Linked DNA regions of Homo sapiens: regions 2 and 3 are each linked to region 1. The links are contacts of gene promoters, found by promoter capture Hi-C in blood cells and fetal thymus (Javierre and others, 2016). All regions are on one chromosome and are shown on one strand. Each heading gives the region's core, a stretch centred on a gene start or on the middle of the fragment in contact. The rest is flanking DNA. Distances are from core to core; before and after follow the strand shown.

Region 1 (4,566 bases), core at 1,828-4,327:
CTGCCTCTGGCGTTGAAGCGATTCTCCTGCCCCAGCCTCCCAAGAAGCTGGGATTACAGGCACTCGCCATCATGCCTGGCTAATTTTTGTATTTTTGTAGAGACAGGGTTTCACCACGTTGGCCAGACTGATCTTGAACTCCTGACCTCAGGTGATCCACATGCCTCATCCTCCCAAAGTGCTGGGATTACAGGCATGAGCCACTGCACCCGGCCAGTATTTACTCTTATATCCAAATAGAATATGCATTCATCAATTCTTCCTTTTTTTCATTCAGTTCACTTATAATTTATTGAGCATATATCCTAGACCAAAGTGAGTGGCAGTGGAGTTGGACAGGAGAAGAGAAATTTAAAAAGCAAAAAAGTAAAATTTATCAGGCTTTGTAACTACTTGCCCAGGAGAAAGACACAAGAGTTAAGAATGAATCCAAGATTTTTGGCTTGGGCATCTGGGTGGATGATGGTGCCATTCGCCAAGTCAGGAAACGGGTATCTTTTTGGCCTGAATTTTAAAAACTAATTTTAAAGAGCAAAGAATATTTTGCTTGGGGTGCTAGTGCTTAAACTCAGTTGAAAAAAGATTCTTAGAATATTGGCTTTCTACAGGATGTAGACAGTATAAAAATGAAAGTGGGGAGGTCTACCAGGTTGGGAATAGACATTTTACGGTTGCTAGCTAATAGGGGAAATCAATGAAAAATTGAGATGAGGGTAGCCAAATCAATTGACAGAAGCCCAAGGGAGATTAAAATGAACAAGAGATTTACAGTACAAGAGAGGAAAACAGGTGAGAGACATTTTAGAAGCAGAGGGCAAACTGAAAACGATGGAATGAAATTGAAGAGGATGAAATGATTTAAAGTGGACTACTCCGATCAGCGGGGAGGTTGTGATGATAAAGGCAGCTGCTTTCAGCAACAAGGAGAGAAAGTGTGAAGCAAGAGGAAACTGGTCTTGGGAACAAATGAATCATCTTCTTCATGTAGTAGCTATGCCCTGGGTTGCATGATTATTCATAAACAAATGCAGGTTTCCTGTGGTGGCAGTGATCTAGGCATGAAAAATACAGTGCTAATATTAGGTTACAGCGCTAATGATCTCAATCAGTTGAAGGGCCCTTTTCCCTTGACTAAACATTTTTTAGCAACAAATGACCCTTACAGCATTTTGTTAATATTGTTGAAAGGACTGTTGGGGCATCAGGTTGGGGACTGAAGGGAATCTCAGGGTCTACTTCCAGCTCTTCCTTAGGTTGGATATATTTCACATGTAAAATGGTAGCATAGGACCTAACTCATAGAATCACTGCGAGGATGAATCATGGTTTCCCTTTGAGCCCCAGTTTCTCTTGTTATAGAAAGGGCATAGTGATTTTTTTGTGACTCAGGAGTATGTGGCAAAGGCACACTTAGGATTATGCAGGAACAGCTTTCATTAAGAGAGCTACTAGGTGACATCTTCTCCATGGTGGCTGCTCAATTATTAAATGAATGATTCCTGGAGACCTTTTGTAGTTTCTATTATTTATCATCATTAGGCCATAACCTAAGGTAAGGTGAGATTGCCTTATAACATTTTTTATACATAAAAAATACTGGTTGCATGCTGCTATCTGCTGTGCAACAGAATGTCATAGGATCCAGTGTATGAGGCTCTATTCTTCCATGGAGGGGTGTTACATAAACCCATTAGTGAAATTTAGGGAAATTTCACCCAGACTAGGGAGGATGAAGAATGGAGCATCTATCTTTTGACAGAAATACAGTTACACACACACATACACACACACATACACACACACAGAGAGAGAGAGAGAGAGAGAGAGAATGAGAAACAAAAACAGAGGAGTACAAAATTGAGCCTAAGAAAAAGAACTGGAACCAATAAAAATTGTAACTAACATTTATTAAGTATCTTCTATGGGCCAGTCTCTTTATCTCCAATCTTCAACAACCAGCAAGGCAGGCAGGAGAAAACTGAAGTTCAAAAATGTTACATAACTTCCCCAGGGTCATAAAGCTATATATACATGACAGAACTGGAACTGGTAGTGTTGGTATGTGTCTGACACCAAAATCACTACACATTCTAGTATACCACTCTGTTAAAAAAGTGTATTTGGAAAATTTAGGGATCAGAGGATTTGGAGAATTTTCTTTCCCTACTTCCCCTCTGACAGTCGTGTTTGTTTTTGGTTCTGATGTTTGCACCCTAGAGGCTGACTGGGATCAAATATGGGGCATCTGTAAACAGAATGATTCCATAGCCCCCACTGTGTAATAATTTCCTTCCTTCAGAGCCTTACTAGGATTTGCCTGGGATGAGGGGTGGAAAGGTGGGAGAGAAGAGGTTGGGAGGGAGAGGATGTTAGTAAAAGATGGGTGATTCTTTGCTTACCTTTAAGTTGTTTATGAATTTCAGGACAACCCGTTGGCTATTCTCTTCTCTGGCTTGGCATATATATATATGTATGTATTTTTTTTTCATTTTTGTTTTGTGGGGGTGGTGGTTTAGGTGTTAAGGGTTTGGTTGATATCTGTAGAAAATTTCTTAATGATCTACACAGTAGATAAAAAAACAAGTTAAGGTCAAAGACAATTCCTTCGTCTGTTTTGGGAGACGAGTGTGTATGTTTGAAAAAAAGGTTTGTTCTGGGTCACTCTTCTTTCATCCAGACGCATTAAAGGAATTAGAAGGGGGTCTCCCTGCCACCCCCGAAACCGTGAGAGTCAAACGGAGATTCCCTTATATTCCTGCTCTCAGGTGCGGGTCCGAGTGACAAGAACGTTCACGTATCTTCGGGAGAGAACGAAAAGGTGCTCGGGTCTGGCGGGGGCGGGGAACGCCAGGGGTTGGTGGGAACTGAGGGGCTTCCGGTTCCCGGGAAGCGGAGTCCCGGGCCGGCCGCGGGCCGCGGGCTACGCAGGGAGCACGGGGCCCTCGCCGCCCCCAGGCCGCGCTCCTTAGCGTTCCCTGCGGCTCGTGCCCAGCGCGGCCGCCGCAGTCCCGACGCCGTAGCCGGACGTGGGGTCCAGGGGGCGCTGTGGCCCAGCGGCGCCGGCGGCAGGAGCGGCCACCCGACGCTGGAGGCTTCGCTGAGGATCCCCGCCTGCCGCACCTCGGTCGTCCCGCCGCAGCCTTGCGCCCCCGGCCCGGCTCGGCGGCGCTCCTCCGGGATCCGCGTGGCTGCCGCGGCCCGGGCGCCGATGCGGCTGGGCGGGTGCCGGGCCTTAGCAGCAGTAGCAGCCGCAGCTGCGGCTACCGCAGCTCCTACAGGAGTGGGAGGTTTCGCGGCGGCGCCTGGGGCCGCGCCGGTGCCCTCCGGAGGAGGCTTTCGGCTCAGGGACGACCCCCGTGGCCATGCTGAAGCGGAGGCGGCCGCTGCTCGAGGTGAGTGTGGCGCGGCGTGGTCCGGGGCTCGCCGGCCTCCCGCCGCCTGTGGGGGCCCTGGCGGCAGACCGCGGGCCGGGCGGACGGGGCGTCCTGCCACTGCGGTCGCCTCCCCCACCCTGCGGTCCTGGGGCCTCAGCCCTTTCTCCCCGCGTCCCCCGGGAGGCTGAAGGCCGTGGGGGGCGATTAGGCCCCGCGCCGTTGGGAAGCCCTCGCTCCGGCCTCGGTTCCGGCGCGGCCGGGTGTGTGGAGCTGGGGGCCGGCAGGAGCACGGCCGCCTTTCGGGTTTGCATGGGCCCGGGCCGAGCGCAGCCTCTTAGCCCGGGCCCTGCACGTACATCCCGGAGGGAGGCAGATGACGCCTGTTTGCAAACAAGCTTTGGCTTCCACGCGTCCCATACCGAGTCCCTCAGAATCCCGGTTGTGGCGGGGAAAGGGGGAGGAGAGGAAGGCCAGGGTGAGAATTGGGGGTGCAGAGAGTGCGGGACCAAGAGAGCCCCTGCTACTCCTGGAGTGTCATTCATGGATCTGGCTTGCTCGAGAACAACCTTTTGCGTCTTATTTGAGGTGAAATTTCATCACCTGCCGGTTGCTCATTCCTGCCTCTTTATATTATATCTTGCCTCTAAGCGTGGTCTGCCTTGGAGAAAGCCCCATCGCATCTTTGCGATGCTAAGTTTTGTAGATAAACACTCACAGTTATAAAAACGTCTTTTACAAAGGTCTGCCCCCCACACCCCGCCAGAAGAAATATTTTTATGCTTCAGTGTTCGGTACAAAAATGTTCCACTTAAAGAGATCCAGAGAATAGTTGGCAAAAGGATTTTAAGTCCTCTTTAAGTGCCAGCTACCCTAATAAATACCTGAAGGAAATGGGATACATGCTAAATTTTAGAAATAAAATGATTTGTTCTGATATTAATGTTGAAAATGCTACTGATTACAGTTTGATACCGTAAGTCAGATATTTATGTTTTGTGAGAAATGTGATTACAGGTTATTCTTGTTTTCCTGTTATGTATGTGAAAGTTATAAGACTTATAGGTACTTGCAAAACTTTTATAATCATGAAAAAATATGCTTATTGTAGAAAACTTGGGAATTATAGAAAGGTACCATGTTGGCTCTTAATAAATATTTAATAATAGGAGAAATCACCCATAATCTCACAGAT
Region 2 (4,355 bases), core at 1,593-4,092, 520 kb after region 1:
TCAGGATAGCCTGGGAAATATAATGAGACCCTGTATCTACAAAAAAAAAAAAAAAAAAAAAAAAAAAGGTGGATGTGGTGGTGCACACCTATAGACCTAGCTACTCAGGAGGCTGAGGTGGGAAGATCACCTGAGCCCAGGAGGTCAAGGCTGTAGTGCGCCATGTTCAAGCCACTGCACTCCAGTCTTGGCAACAGTGCAAGACCCTATCTCAAAATAAAATAATGTTTTTGAAAAAGGATATATAGGTGGCAAATAGGCACATGAAAATATGTTCAACTTCATTAGTCATTAAGGAAATGCAGATTAAAGCCACAATGAGATGCCATCTCAAGGAGCACAGGTAATGGAAAGAGATTGAAAGCTTTCAGAAAGAATAGTACATAGACTCACTTGATCTTAGAAAGATCTTAGATCTCTCTGGCTACAGCATGGAGGACGTGATGGAGGGGCCCCCACTGGAGGCCGTTCCAGGGGTCTGGGCAGAAGAAGATGAAAGCCTGATCTAAGGTGGTAGCCTTGAGGATGGAGAGAAATGGGTGGATACCACAGATGACTATTAGGTGGAACCAGCAGGACCTGGCTTTGTGAAAGGGCCGAGGTAGAAGGTGTGAGAGATGACTCGAATTTTTGGCTTAAACACTTGATACATTTTTTTATCTAGAAAGACAGAAATGTTCAATTGTGTCAAATGCTCCTGATTAAAAAAAGAAAAAGGAAAAAAGAATCAGAGTCCTATAACTGGTAAAGTAAAATTTAAAATAAATAAATAATGTTAAATGTTCCTGATAAGGGAGATAAGGATTTAGAAGTGACTATGGGTTTAGTGACAAATAGTTTGAAGGTATAGTGGGGGCAGAACAAAGTAAGTTGCAGCTGAACAAGTCATGAATGGAAGGTAGAGAATAATAAGGCCAAGTGGACTTCCTTTCAAGCTTTGATTTAAGAGGAAGAGAGAAGATAAGTCACTCAGCAAAGAGAAGCATGGAATCTATTCTCAAAGCGAGAACAATCTATGTTTTAAAAATGTCCACCACTCTTCTCCATACTAGCTGTATGGTAATCCTGTGTTCTCATCTATAAAATGGATTTCTAATAGTACCTACCTCATAGGGTTATGGTGAAGGTCAAGTCTTCATAGCTCTTAACAATTGTTTCTTATCTGTTTCCTCCACCAAACTACAAGTTCATGAGCAACACTGACAGCTCTCAGTGCATAATGTGGTGTATTGTTAATAAATACATGTTAAACAAATGATGCTTCTAAGGCTCTGACCACAGTGCACTGCCCAAGGTAAGCACCAGAGAAGTCAGCTGGGGAGTGTGATCCTGTTGGGGAAGAAGAGAGCCACACACCCTCAGTTTGCTGTTTTCCAGGCCCTGAGGAGGTTTCTCCTGACTGCCAAGGTGTGAACACAGGCATGGCGGCAGAAGTGCCAAAAGTGAGCCCTCTCCAGCAGAGTTACTCCTGCTTGAACCCGCAGCTGGAGAGCAATGAGGGGCAGGCTGTGAACTCCAAACGCCTCCTCCATCATTGCTTCATGGCCACAGTGACCACCAGTGACATTCCAGGCAGCCCTGAGGAAGCCTCTGTACCCAACCCTGACCTATGTGGACCAGTCCCATAAACATTCAATAAATGTCTCCATACCATCCCCTTCTGGAGTCTCTTCAGTGAAAGGTGGGAGTGGGAAAGGACTTTAGAGCCTAGCATGATAAATGAGGGCTTCTCCCAGCAAAGATACCCAGCCCTGCTGTGGACCCTGCCATACTGTTCTGCTTGGCCTATTGTGGGCCAAAGAACTTTGACATGACTCCTAGGAAAAATGGTCAGTAACAACTCCATGCAATCGGGTGGAAGCCTGGGGCCTGTGAAGGCACAGAGGAGCCCCTCACCCAACTGGGAAGTCAGAGAACTCTGACATGGTTTTCCTGCCCCACAGTAGGTGTATTTAGGAGCCCCTGAGAAGATGATTAGCCCTCAGAGGGGGATGATCTCTGCCTCTTCAGCAGCTCTGCCTCACCCTGGAGTGCGCCATCCTGGAGTAAGCCCCTTGCAGAGGGACGGATAGAGAGGGAGTATGTTGTGCACAGGGCTCAGGCGTCATTCTATTTCTTAGGTAGATGAAGGAGTGAGTGCTAAGTGAGAGAATGAATAGGGGCAGGGCGCGGCAGTTCACGCCTGTAGTCCTAGAGCTTTGGGAGGACAAGGTGGATGGATCACTTGAGCCCACTTATTCAAGACCAGCTTGGGCAACACAGTGAGACCCAGACTCTACAAAAAATTTAAAAATTAGCCACATGTGGTGGCTTATACCTGTAGTTGCAGCTACTTGGGAGGCTGAAGCAGGAGAATCAGTTGAGCCCTGGAGGTCGAGGCTGCAGTGAGCTATGATCACACCACTGCACTCCAGCCTGGGCAAGACCTCATCACAAAAAAAGAAGAAGAATGAATGAATGAATGAATGGTTATCAGACTGAATACAGGCTCCAGAGGGTGGACTCTGCCACTGTGTGGCCTTGATAAAGTCCCTTGTCTTCCTGAGCCTCAGTCCCCTTGCTGGGTTATTGCAAGTGTTCAATGAGGTGATGGATTTGAACTCACTTCGTAAACATTAAATTACTAGAAGACTTTTTTTTTTTTTGAGACGGAGTTTTGCTCTGTCACTTAGGCTAGAGTGCAATGGCATGATCTCAGCTCAGTGCAACCTCCGCCTTCCGGGTTCAAGTGATCCTCCCACCTCAGCCTCCCAAGTAATTGGGACTACAGGTGTGTGCCACCATGCCTGGCTAATTTTTGTATTTTTAGTGGAGACGGGGTTTCACCATGTTGGCCAGGCTGGTCTTGAACTCCTGACCTCAAGTGATCCGCCTGCCTTGGCCTCCCAAAGTGCTGGGATTACAGATGTGAGCCACCACACCTGGCCTGTTAAAAGACTTTTTAAATGACCAATGGATGATAACATAGTATTCCTGCTAAAAGACTTTTTAAATTACAAATGGACAATAACAGTAAACTATGTAATACTGAACAACTCTGGAGCCAAATGCCTGGTTAAAATCCTGCCCCTGTCACTTACTTGCTAGGTAACCTCTGTGCCTCAGTCCTCTCATCTATATAAGCTGGAATCTTAGTAGTATCTTCTAATAGGGCTTGGGGAAGGACTAAATTACTAAGTCCATGCAAGTACATAGAAAAGTGTTGGCAAATGGAAAGCACTATGTGTTAGCTATTATTATTATTTTTAACATGTCTTATTATTAATCTGATCGCAAAGGAATCTTAGGGCAAGATGCTGACTGTCAGCCCTCCCTCCTGGCTGCTCTCCTAACTTTGGCGATGGCTTTTAGGCTTCGCCTTCGGAATGCAAGACAAGGACTGTGGAGACGCAGCTCAGCAGCCACCAAAAGCAGCTCTTGACATTTCAGACAGTGACATGACCTGCTGCTGGATTTGGCAACAGTGAAAGAGTCACTCTTAGATACCTGTGCCTGAGGCCAGCCAAAGGGTACATGATGGGGTGGCAAGACAGGGTGAGTCACCCACAGAAGTGTTCTAGGCTGGAAGTCAAGAGATTTTGGTTCTGGTCTTGCTTCATTTGTTGTTGTTGGTGGTGGTGGTGGTGGTGGTGTGTGTGTGTGTGTGTGTGCTCTTTTATTTCAGCATTTTTTTTTTGAGACAGTCTCATTCTGTCACCAGGCTGGAGTGCAGTGGAGATCATAGCTCACTGCAACCTCAAACTCCTGACACAAGCAATCCTTCTGCCTCAGCCTCCCAAGCAACTGTGACTACAGGTGCGTGCCACTGTGTCCAGCTAATTTTTAAATTTTTTTTTTATCGAGACGGGTGGTTGCTATGTTGCCTAGGCTAGCCTTGAACGTGTTGGGATTACAGGTGTGAGCCACTGCACCCAGCCTATTTTCAGCACTTAAAACCCAGCACCCTTGTCCATTTACTGCACACTTAGTGGTATCCATTCTATTCTAGGACCTGTGCAGGTTGCCACAAACAAGAGGAATCAGACAGTTCTCACCCTCAAGGGGCTCACATGGAGGACAAGGCAGGCACACAAATGGCCAGGAGGCCCAGTGGTGGCCCTTCATGGGGCTTTAGGGAGGAAGAAATGATGTCTGAGCTGAATCATCAAAGATGACTCAAAGTTTCCAGGTGAGACAGGAACAGAAAACATTATGGTCAGAATACAGCTTGTTCACAATAGTGAGAGCGAGCCAGTGTGGCCCAGGACCTGCAAGTTATTTGTTATAGAAAGAGCTTAGGGTACTTGTATATATGTGGTGGGGCTGGGTGATATTGGGATGTTTAGTCCCTGACGCTCTGTGCGACCCTTCACAGG
Region 3 (4,288 bases), core at 286-2,785, 540 kb after region 1:
ATCACGAGGTCAGGAGATCGAGACCATCCTGGCTAACACGGTGAAACCCCATCTCCACTAAAAAAAAATACAAAAAATTAGCCAGGCATGGTAGCGGGAGCCTGTAGTCCCAGCTACTCGGGAGGCTGAGGCAGGAGAATGGGAGGCGGAGCTTGCAGCTTGCAGTGAGCCAAGATCGAGCCACTGCACTCCAGCCTGGGTGACAGAGCGAGACTCTGTCTCAAAAAAAAAAAAAAAAAGGAATATAACATTACTATTTTTAAATGTATATATTTCTCATTCTTTGTTAGGTGTCCTAAATATACATGCGTATTCTGCCTTTGACTAATCCAGAATTGTCCACATCTGTAGGATCTGAAGTCTAGGCATTTTCCCTCTGCCACGCTGCCCTTCATACAATTTTTCAAGCAACTTCATAAAACAAATAAAAATGCTATTTATTTATAAAACTTAAAAAATCACCCAACAGTTCAGAGTTCTTGTCCCCATCCCCACACCACAGGCTCCAAATCAATATGAATAGCTCCACTGTCCACCTAGATGCCCAAGCTAAACCTGTTTTGGTTTATATTTTTCAACCTCATGCTCAACCCCACCTTCTTCCCACCCCCGCATGGCTCAATTTTGCTTATTCAGCTGTCTGGCCTCTCACCTGTGCTCCCTTCCTTGCTTGACAGGCCTTAGCTCAGGCCCCACCATGTCTCACCTTGACATCTGCAGCCATCTCCTCATTGGTCTTCCTGCCTCCAGTCTTTCCCCCGTGATTCATTTTCTGCACTGGGGATGATCTTTCTAATTTCCAAACCTGATCAAAACCCTTTCGTGACTCTGCATTACCCACAAGATAAAAGCCAAATCTCTATACCCTCAGGTTTTCCCTTCCCTCTCTGGGACTCTTCCTTTCCTTCCTCACAGTACTGAGCACCATACTGTCAGATTTTAGTGAGAGCATTGGCCGGGCAGAGCGGTTCACGCCTGTAATCCCAGCACTTTGGGAGGGAGAGGCAGGCAGATCATCTGAGGTTGGAAGTTCAAGACCAGCCTGGCCAACATAGTGAAATGGTGAAACCCATCTCTACTAAAAAATACAAAAATTAGCTGGGCGTGGTGGCCTGTAATCCCAGCTACTCAGGAGCCTGAGGCAGGAGAATCTCTCAAACCCGGGAGGCAGAGGTTGCAGTGAGCCAAGATCGCACCACTGCACTCCAGCCTGGGCAACAGAGTGAGACTGTGTCTCAAAAAAAAAAAAAAAGATTTTAGTGAGAACACAAACCGCCAGAGTCAATTATGAACCGTCTTTCCCATTAGACAGACCATCAGGCCAGCTCTGAATGTCCTGTATCCAGCCCAAGCCTAGCATGGAGGAAAAACGTAGGAAATAGTTGTTAATGATGATCCAATGCCTGCTGGCTAGAAGACACAGTAATGATACTGCTTGCTGTGACCAGAGTCTGAAAAGCGATTTTCAAACCTTGCCTCAAAGGCTGCATTAAAGTGAGAAACTTATCCATGCTGGCTCTTACCAACCTACTGCTTCCCACAGTAGCCTGGGTATGAAATGGCCTTGGACCATTCTGAACAGTAAATTATTATTCTTTGCATTTTAATAACTTTAGGGAAATATAACATTTTGACACAGTTAATGCTCACTCTATTGTTCCCTGCCCCACTAAGTATGTGACTCAGGAAGGCAAGTACCAGAAGTCCCAGGTAGGAACTCGTCCATAAAAAAAAAAAAAAAGGCTGGGTGTAGTGGCTCACGCCTGTAATCCCAGCACTTTGGGAGGCCGAGACAGGTGGATCATCTGAGGTCGGGAGTTCGAGACCAGCCTGGCCAACATGGAGAAACCCTGTCTCTACTAAAAATACAAAATTAGCCGGGTGTGGTAGCACATGCCTGTAATCCCAGCTACTCAGGAGGCTGAGGCAGGAGAATTGCTTGCACCCGGGAGGCGGAGGTTGCGGTGAGCTGAGATCATGCCATTGCACTCCAGCCTGGGCAACAAGAGTGAAGTTCCATCTCAAAAAAAAAATCCAGTACATCTGCCACCCAAAAATCAAACTTAGTTCTTCAAAATTACAAAACCCAGTGGGGCAAGTGGCTCATGTCTGTAATCCTAGCATGTTGGGAGGCTGAGGCAGGAGGATCGCTTGAGCCCAGGAGTTTGAGACCAGCCTGGGCAACACAGCGAGACCCCATATCTACAAAAAACATGAAAACTAACTGGGCATGGTGTCACGCACATGTAGTCCCTAGCTACTTGGGAGACTGAGGTAGGAGGATCACCTGAGCCCAGGAGGTTGAGGCTGCAGTGAGCTATGATTGCACCACTGCACTCCAGCCTAGGTGACACAGAGAGACCCTATCTCAAAAAGAAAAAAAAAAATTACAAAACCTGTTAGTTGAAAAGATATGATTCTTGGCAGGGCACAGTGGCTCATGCCTGTAATCCTAGCACTTTGGGAGGCCAAGGTGGGTGGATCAGCTGAGGTCAGGAGTTAGAGACCAGCCTGATCAACATGGTGAAACCCCATTTCTACTAAAAATACAAAAAATAGCCGGCTGTGGTGGCGCTCGCCTGTAGTCCCAGCTACTCAAGAGGCTGAGGCTGGGGAATCACTTGAACCTGGGAGGTGGAGGTTGCAGTGAGCTGAGATCACGTCACTGCACTCCAGCCTGGGTGACACCATCTCAAAAAAAAAAAAAAAAAAAAAAAGATATGATTCTTTAAAAAAATGGTTAAATAGTGAGAACGCTATTGTGCCAAAGAATGCCCATAGGTGATAAAAGAATAGTGAGGGGTGATGGTTTCTTCTGTTTCAAATTGCATTTTATGAGAACATACTAATTTTATAATAAAAAAACTTCAAACCTTGCATTTTTAAAAAGTCAATATGTTTTTTTTTTAAATTGTGGTAAAACATAAAATTTACCATGTTAACCTCTTTTTTTTTTTTTTTTTTTTTTTTTTTTGAGATGGAGTCTCACTCTGTTGCCTAGGCTGGAGTGAAGTGGTGCAATCTCAGCTCACTGCAACCTCCACCTCCCAGGTTCAAGTGATTCTCGTGCCTCAGCCTCCTGAGTCGTTGGGACTACAGGCGCATGCCACCACGCCCAGCTAATTTTTGTATCTTTAGTAGAGAGAGGGTTTCACCATGTAAGCCAGGCTGGGTTAACCATTTTTAAACATATAGTTCAGTAGTGTTAAGTATATTCACATTTGATGTGTAACAATCTCCATTATTTTTTCATCTTACAAATTTGAAACTCTTTACCTATTAAACAACCCATTTTGGCCAGGCATGGTGGCTCACACCTATAATCCCAGAACTTTGGGAGGCCGAGGCGGAAAGATCACTTGAGCTCAGGAGTTTAAGACCAGCCTGGGCAATATGGCAAAACCTCGTCTCTACAAAAAATACAAAAACTAGCTGGGCGTGGTGGTGTGTACCTGTAGTCCCAGCTACTTGGGAAGCTGAGGTGGAAGGATGACCTGAGCCCAGGAGTTAGAGGCTGCAGTGAGCTATGATAGTGCCACTGCACTCCAGCCTAGGCGACAGAGCAAGAGCCTATCTCAAAACAAAAACAAAAACAAAAAACTCATTTCCTCCTCACCCCAGCCCCTGGCAGCCACCATTTTACTTTCTGTTTCTGAGTTTATATACAACTCATACCCAAGTTTAGATGCCTCATATACAGCATGTCTTTTTGTGACTGGCTTATACAGCATGTCTTTTTGTGACTCTCTTAGCACGATGTCCTCAAGATTCAGCCATGTTTTGTGGCATGTGTCAGAATTTCCTTCCTTTTCAAGGCTGAATAATATTCCATTGCATGTACATCTCGCCTTTTGTGTATTCATTCATCTGCTGATGGGCATTTGGGTTCCTTCTACCCTTTGGTTACTATGAATAGTGCTGCTAAGAATATGGGTATAGATACCTCTTGGAGACCCTGCTTTCAATTCTTTTGGATATTAATAGTTTGGATACTTGTCCCCCAAATCTCACGTTGAAATTTAATCCCCAATGTTGGAGGTGGAGCTTGGTGGGAGGTGATTGGATCATGGGGAGGATTTCTCATGAATGGTTTAGGACCCTCCCCTTGGTGCTGTCCTCAGGAGATTTGTGTGTGGTATCTCCCCTTGCTCACTCTCTTGCTCCTGCTCTTGCCTTCTCACCATGTGATACACTGACTCCCCCTGTGCCTTCCACCATGACTGTAAGCTTCTGAGGCCTCACCAGAAGCCAATAGGATGCACAGCACCATGCTTCCTGAGCCAATTAA

The links. Contacts are between HindIII fragments. The CHiCAGO score rates a contact against its expected background, and 5 or more counts as called.
Region 2: a contact is called between a fragment that was not itself captured here and the fragment with the promoter of ZFYVE9 in region 1, in 1 of 17 cell types (M2 macrophages). The highest score is 8.2, in M2 macrophages.
Region 3: a fragment that was not itself captured here is called in contact with the fragment with the promoter of ZFYVE9 in region 1 in 1 of 17 cell types (fetal thymus); the score reaches 5.1 in fetal thymus.

Annotation. Positions count from the first base shown.
Region 1 is chr1:52,139,012-52,143,577 of GRCh38, forward strand. It overlaps ZFYVE9 (zinc finger FYVE-type containing 9), which reads left to right and starts at 3,078. Exons shown (of 19, transcript NM_004799.4): 1 at 3,078-3,392. LOC107984956 (collagen alpha-2(I) chain-like) reads left to right here and starts at 708. Exons shown (of 5, transcript XM_047439476.1): 1 at 708-789; 2 at 2,182-2,278; 3 at 2,424-2,470; 4 at 2,766-3,392. The coding sequence starts at 708. RefSeq lists a silencer at 2,878-3,737. The HindIII fragment of the contact is 13,456 bases long and covers 1-3,767 here.
Region 2 is chr1:52,655,413-52,659,767 of GRCh38, forward strand. SHISAL2A (shisa like 2A) reads left to right here. Exons shown (of 3, transcript NM_001042693.3): 3 at 1,378-1,653. The coding sequence ends at 1,628. Among named protein-coding and RNA genes, the nearest start is that of SHISAL2A, 24 kb to the left of the region's middle. The HindIII fragment of the contact is 3,818 bases long and covers 934-4,355 here.
Region 3 is chr1:52,679,929-52,684,216 of GRCh38, forward strand. No RefSeq gene overlaps it. Among named protein-coding and RNA genes, the nearest start is that of COA7, 16 kb to the right of the region's middle. The HindIII fragment of the contact is 5,380 bases long and covers 1-4,225 here.